Linked DNA regions of Homo sapiens: region 1 is linked to region 2. Evidence: promoter capture Hi-C in 16 types of primary human blood cells and fetal thymus (Javierre and others, 2016). All regions are on one chromosome and are shown on one strand. The core of a region is centred on a gene start or on the middle of the fragment in contact, and the rest is flanking DNA. Distances in the headings are between cores, read along the strand shown. Region 1 overlaps KCNAB1 (potassium voltage-gated channel subfamily A regulatory beta subunit 1). Region 2 holds the start of KCNAB1-AS2 (KCNAB1 antisense RNA 2).

Region 1 (3,751 bases), core at 520-3,019, 280 kb after region 2:
AGACCATTGGTGTAGACAAGCACGTTGGTTCTAAATCCTGGCTGCACACTAGAATCATCATCTGGGATGAGTTTTTAAATTATTATCGATGCTGGGGCCTCACCCCCAAGAGATTCTAATATAATAGAATTTCAGTGGAGCCTGGGCCTGGATAGTTTGTAAAGCCCCCACTCCAGGTGTTTCTAATATGTAGTCGGAGTTGAGAACCACTGGGATTAAGGCTTCTGGAAAACTAGGGAAGGAGCCCAGACCAGGAGAGTCACATTCAGTACTGGGTTATCAGGTTTAATCACATTTGTCTGAGTCTCCTTTCCCAGAGGCAGGTGATGCAGTGCACTAAACTATCTTTCTAACATCCTTTCCTCACTCAGAATTGTTATTCTGCCTAGGAGGCTTTTAAAAGGCATCTCCATGTTATGCACTTAACAGTATCTAGAAGACAGTTGATTTTTCCTTTCAGCAATGCTGCCCTCTAGTGTTCTTAATTATTCAAATCATGTAAAAACCCACCTTGGCCATCAGTATGGTTGTTTCCTATTAGTAAGCTAAACGAATTTTTCTCTGAAATAGAATTAAATTTTAATTCATGGCAACATGAATCTCCAAAACTGCAGCCTCTTGGTTCTCCTGCAATTTCTCCCTGCTTTTGATGTTGCAGCCTCCTTCCAGGACAAGAACTCACAGAGTTCCCTTTTCCCAATTCCACCAAGCTTTTCTCTTCAGAGTCAAAACTAAACAATGAGGAAAAAACTACCAGCAACAAAAAGACCTGAGGCATTGGAGTGCCTCGCAGAGGCTCTCCTCACCTTTTTCTCATTTCTGCTACACATCTCATGCCTCCTTTTACACTTGGTTCACAGTTTATTGAGACTAGAATTCATCAAACAGGTGCTGCCATGTCTTCCCATGATGGTTCTACAAACCTCCCTGGGTCCCATCATCTTGACAAAAGTGTCCTTCTTACCTCTAGGGGCTCTGTCCCTCCTCCCTCTCCCTTTATCAAGTCTCTCTCCCTCTTCCTTCCCAGCCCCGAGGCCATTTCATCAATAACTCCCTCTTCCTAGGTCACTCCAAATGGCACACAGGCTTACTCTTAATGTCCCGTGACCCTGAATATCCCTTCAGCTCCTGTCCTATTTCTCTTCCAAACTTATTGAATGCATTGTGTTTAAGGCCTCTCCTTCTTCCACTCATTCTTCCATTGAGTGGCTTCCAATGGCTCCAACCTTGCTTGATCCCATCACATCACTGACACTGAAGCTGCTTTTCTCATGGTCTGCAGTGGTCTCCCTACATATGGCCAAATCCAGTGGACACTGTTTGGGGCTGTTCTGACACAAATGTCCATGGCGTTCCACCCTGTGGGCATGGCTCCCTCTTGAAGTGCCCTCTGCTCTTGGTCTGACACATCCCTGTGTGCCGGCTTCCCTCCTGCCCCTTTGGCTGCCGGCTACCCAGCATCCTGCATGGGTCCTCTCTCTAACCCCTGGGCTGGCCATCAGAAACTCTTCTCTTTTCTGTCTATAGACTTTCCTTACAAGGCTCATCCATTTTCATGAATTTAAATATAATCAATAGACTGGTAACTAATAAATGTATATACACCTCTGGCCCAGATTGCTCACTGTCGTATTTATCCAACTATTAAATATCCACTTGACATCTCCCCTTTATTTTTTATTTTTTATTTTTTTTGAGACGGAGTCTTGCTCTGTCCCCCATGCTGGAGTGCAGTGGCGTGATCTCGGCTTACTGCGAGCTCCACCTCCCAGGTTCATGCCATTCTCTTGCCTCAGCCTCCCGAGTAGCTGGGACTACAGGCACCCGCCACCACGCCCGGCTAATTTTCTGTATTTTTAGTAGAGACGGGGTTTCACCGTGTTAGCCAGGATGGTCTCGATCTCCTGACCTCGTGATCCACCCGCCTCGGCCTCCCAAAGTGCTGGGATTACAGGTGTGAGCCACCGTGCCCCGCCCGTCATCTCCCTTTTAGTATCTCACATGCATCTCCATTTTTCACATGTCCAAAGAAGAACCCTCGATTTTTCTCCCAAACCTGTTCTTCCTTCAGTCTCCCTTATCTCTGTAAACAGCCAGATATCTGGGAAACAGCTTTAATTCCTCCCTTTCCCTGACCACACTCAGTCCATCTGTAAGTATTGTGGATTCTGCCTTCAACATCTATTTTGAATCCATCCACCACTCTCTCTGTTTGCCATCATCACCCTATTACAAATCACCCTCATCTCCTGCCTAGAATACAACAATACCTTCCTCAAGCTCTTTCTACTTCCTCCAGTCCTCCCTGTTACTAATGATTCTCCACAGCACAGAGACTGTTCTGAAATGCAAACTATATTCTACCATCCCCTTACCTGATAAAATGTTAATGCCTTGATTAAACCTTGAATAACATACAAATGACATGGTTTGCCCTCTGCCAACTTCATCTCATACCCCTGTCCTCCTTCCCTCCCATTGCTGGGACTCACTAAGCTCTGTCCTTCCTCAGGGCCTAGGCGCATACTACATCATCTGCCTCGAATGCTCTTCCACTGTTCTTCACAAGGATGGTTCCTTTTTTCTTTTTTATGCCTAAACATGATTGCTCTTCAGTGAGACCTTCCTTACTGCACTAAATATGTCTTCTCTTTCATTTCCTGTCCCAGTCCCCTGTGTTATTTTCTTTATAACACTTTACATTTTATAATGACTTACTTGTTTACCCCTCCATCTCTCACTCAACTTGAAACTCCCTGAGTCCAGGAAATTTGTGTCTGTTTTACTCACAGAAGAATCCAGCAACCAGCACAGTGACTGGCAAACATTAAGCTTTTAATACTTGTGTGTTGTATAATTAAATGCATGTGCAGGAAGAGTCACAACTTCCACTCCATCTTCACTGCTTTTGTCAAGGACTCCCACGTGCCCAAGCCACCTGTCAGCATTCTGTGCCTGTCTTACTTGATGGCAGAGACAGAGTTAAGGGAGAGGCCAGGTCCAGTTTATTCTCTGTTAACCTCTTCTGTGTTTATCAGCATGTTTGATTCACCACAGTATCTCCAGCACCCAGAACAGCAGACACCTAGTAGATACTGTTGATTGGCTGAACTCCCAGCTCTGAATGACACAGGATGTGAAGGGAAAGGGAGCTGGTGCAGTGATGGAGACATCTAAAGACAGAATCTATCTGGGGCAGAGATTCATATCATTGTTTTCAACTTCTGGAACTGTTTATCATAGGCACGCATCTCCATTTGTATAATGAAAGAGAAGAAAAGCGGTTCCTTACACTTTTTTAATCATATGTTTTATAAATGGAGAATGAACTTCATAGTTTTAGTTGCTAGGCAATAATTTGATATTCTAGAGTCTTTCTCCAAGAAAAAGAAAACTATTTTGCTTATAAGCCAGCTTTTACCTCTGTTGGACACACAATGGTGAATGAAAGCATTTCCATCTTCCAAAAAAGAAATCAAGGGCAATTAAAAATAGTTTACAGAAGGACGGGAGCAGTGGCTCACGCCTGTAATCCCAGTACTTTGGGAGGCCGAGGTGGGAGGATCACGAGGTCAGGAGATCGAGACCATCCTGGCTAACACGGTGAAACCCTGTCTCTACCAAAAATACAAAAAGTTAGCCGGGTGTGGTGGCGGGCACCTGTAGTCCCAGCTACTCGGGAGGCTGAGGCAGGAGAATGGCATGAACCCGGGAGGCGGAGCCTGCAGGGAGCCGAGATCTTGCCACTGCA
Region 2 (3,445 bases), core at 499-2,998:
CTAGAGGCATCACATTACCTGACTTCAAACTATACTGTAAGGCCACAGTCACCAAAACAGCATTATACTGGTATAAAAATTGGCACATAGACCAGTGGAACAGAATAGAGAACCCAGAAATTAAGCCAGATACAGTCAACTGATCTTGACAAAGCAAATAAAAACATAAAGTGGAGAAAGGATACCCTACTCAACAAACGGTGCTGGGATAATTGGCTAGCTACATGTAGAAGAATGAAACTAGATATCTATCTCTCACCTCATACAAAAATCAACTCAAGATGGATCAAAGACTTAAATTTAAGATCTGAAACCATAAAAATTCTAGAAGATAACATCAAAAAACCCTTCTAGACATTGGCTTAGACAAGACGTCATGACCAAGAACCCAAAAGCAAATGCACCAAAAACAAAGAGAAATAGATGGGACTTAATTAAACTAAAAAGCTCCTGCACAGCAAAAGAAATAATCAGCAGGGTTAACAGACAAAAATCTCAGAAATCACCGCTAAAGAACTTATTCATGTAACCAAGTACCACCTGTTCCCCAAAAACCTATTGAAATCAAGAAAAAGAAAAAAGAAAAGCTCATCTGCAAAGCTTGTGAACAACTTTCCATGTTTTGGCGGGGATCCTTTTATTCCAGTTTCAGGAAACACCCCACAGCCAAGCCCAGCACTCCTCCTCTCTCTTATGTAAGCGATAAGCACCATTAATAGTCCTGTCAGTCTTGATTAATTCTGTGTACAATGATCAAGAGAGTATTTTGACTTTGGGGCAAATCAAACCATGGTGGACTATGACACAGACATAAGGGATAAACATTTACTAAAAGTAAAAAACACACAGCCTGGAGCTTGTAAGGATTCCATAGAAATAAAAGCATATGAAGAATGAATTCCAACTATAGATTTTTTACAAAGCTACATGATGATTAAGTGCTTTTGGGTTATTCTATTCTATAATATTTAATGGTTTCTAAATCTAACTACTTCTTCGTCACAATGTTGTTTTTAAAAAGTTATCCATTAGGTCTTTGTGTGAACAAATGTAGGCCATTACTCCACTGATCAGTAACTAATGCAAGGAAAAAGTTCTTTTTTATACTTTTACAACGTGAACTCCTTTTGATAGTACTGAAACGACTGGCCATTTGCAAGAATGAAACTAATTTAAAAAGCAAAGACAAAGGACATTGTTCTCAAAGGTATTTAATAGGCCCTGAAAGTTTGACTTAGAAAAAAAAGTGTTTGAAATCACAATCAATGTTGCAATAAAGTGGGACGATTCCAAGCAGCTAAAAAAGACTTTCTCTCCGATTTCAGTGAGAATTGTCTTTTCTCATGATAGTCTGAATCTAGTGTGTGTGTACTATTTTTATATGCAAATTAGTATACGATTCTCTTGTTTGATTCAACAATAGGTGATGTAGGTAAGTCGACATTATTATATTTCAAGAAAGAAGGCAAATGAGACCCAGAGAAGTTAGGAAATTTGTTCCTGGTCATGCAGTTAGTAAACAGGGATGCTTAAACCTAAACCCCAGTCACTCACCAAATGATTCTCCTCTTCATGTAACAGGCTCAAGGCCCCCACTAGCAGGCACAGTGGTAAGTTCTCACCCTAAACTCCGGAAACGCCCTTTTAGGGCACCATCCCGGTTCAGAGCTGTTTAGGCAAACTGTGCTTAAGGAGGGACCTCCTCGTACACAGCTGTTCTGCTTAGACATGGATTTTCCTCCTCCAGCCCTTTCTGCCATGTCATCAATACAAGGTCAGAAAGAGACACTGAGTCAGCAATGAATATGGGAATTATCTGCACATTTAGCAGTGGAATCCTAGAGGCACGGGAAGAGAGAGCAGGTAAGTGGTAGGATCCAGTTTTAAACTTACCTTCTTGTTGCATACATTGAAAGTAAACATCAGAAACGTCTTCCACCTTAAAATTTTGCACAATAATTTATTGTACCAAATTGGTTCAATTCCATTCCTCTGTTCATTCATTCCATTCCACACATCTTTATTGAGCACCTCCCCTTGGCAGTAACTGTGTCGGTGGGAAGTCAGATGCTGTCCTTGCCCTCAGATAGTGCACAGTCTTCAGATGAAGGGGAGAGGAGAAAAGAAGCAAGTGCTGGTTAGGAGGTGGGATGAAAGCTTAGATTTTGTGATTCACAAAAAGCCATACACTTCTTGTCTGCAGCCCTACCGTGTGCTTTGAACATAGGAGCAGCAGTTGATGGTTTTGCCTCCATTTGACTGTTACAGATCCCAGCCCCTGTGTTGTTTCCTCAAGCATTTCTGGAAGTCCCTGAAATGCATCTCATGTGTGGTCGAAAGCAAGCCTGGTCAGCCTTCACACAGCGTCTGCTGTTTCTTCCTTCTCACTAGCCTGCCTCTTCGGGGTTCTATCATGTTCCACTAGAGACCGCTGCAGGTGTGCTAGAGCTTGGAGGTGGGAAGTGGGGAGGGCACCTCTCCTTCTCATGTTGCCTTCCACTGAAAGGCTCCAAAGGTTTACAGAGTCTTAAGTGAAATAGCTTGTTCAGGTTGAGTTCCAGGCTTTTCTTACCCTTGACCTAGGTTGGAGTCAATGGGGGATAGATCAGAGAAAAACCTCAGTGACAGCCACTATGTGATTCTCAGGATTGCTCTCCTCTTCTGACCACCCTATTTCTCCTTCCACAGACAGTTTTCTGTCTATGGCCACATGGCCCTTTGTAGGCTGGTTATTTCCCACTGTCAAGATTCTGGGCAAGCCCGCCTCTGAGTTCCATGGCATACCTGAACCCCAGCGGAGACTAGGGTTTACACAGAGAGAAGGTGTTGTTCTAGTGTGGAGTTTGGGGAGAGGGCACTAGACATACCCCAGAGGCATCATTCCCCTCTTCCTTGTGTGTAAAGGGGAGCCTCTGAGGGGTCTCAGCCCTGAACACAGTCTTTTTGAGGGAGAGGTTTGAAACTCTGTTTTAAAAAGAACAAGACTATTTTTCTTTCTATGGTGTATTAGTTCATTCTCACACTACTATAAAGAAATACCTGAGACTGAGTAATTTGTAAAGAAAAGAGGTTTAATTGGCTCGTGGTTCTGCAGGCTGTACAGGAAGCATGGCTGGGGAGGCCTTGGGAAACTTATAATTATGGTGGAAGGCACAGCTTACATGGCCAGAGCAGGAGGAAGAGAGTGGGGAGAGGTGCTACACACCTCACAGATCTGTGAGAATTCACTTATAGTCAAGAGACCAGCAAAGGAGAATCTGTCCCCTTGATCCAATATCCTCCCACCAGGCCCCTCCTCCAACCTTGGGGATTATTACAATTCGACATGAGATTTGGGCAGGGACACAAATTTAAACCATATTATGTGGTTACAGATAAAAGATGGAACACAATTATGTTGGATGCATTAGTGGAAAGGACAACACTTATTCATCCTGAAGTGTAA

What was found. Contacts are between HindIII fragments. The CHiCAGO score rates a contact against its expected background, and 5 or more counts as called.
Region 1: a fragment that was not itself captured here is called in contact with the fragment with the promoter of KCNAB1-AS2 in region 2 in 1 of 17 cell types (endothelial precursors); the score reaches 5.5 in endothelial precursors.

What each region holds. Positions count from the first base shown.
Region 1 is chr3:156,509,427-156,513,177 of GRCh38, forward strand. The region is part of intron 8 of KCNAB1 (potassium voltage-gated channel subfamily A regulatory beta subunit 1); the gene reads left to right. Among named protein-coding and RNA genes, the nearest start is that of SSR3, 44 kb to the right of the region's middle. The HindIII fragment of the contact is 2,122 bases long and covers 709-2,830 here.
Region 2 is chr3:156,226,135-156,229,579 of GRCh38, forward strand. It overlaps KCNAB1-AS2 (KCNAB1 antisense RNA 2), which reads right to left and starts at 1,749. Exons shown (of 4, transcript NR_046617.1): 1 at 1,555-1,749. All of the region lies in intron 1 of KCNAB1 (potassium voltage-gated channel subfamily A regulatory beta subunit 1), which reads left to right. The HindIII fragment of the contact is 1,557 bases long and covers 599-2,155 here.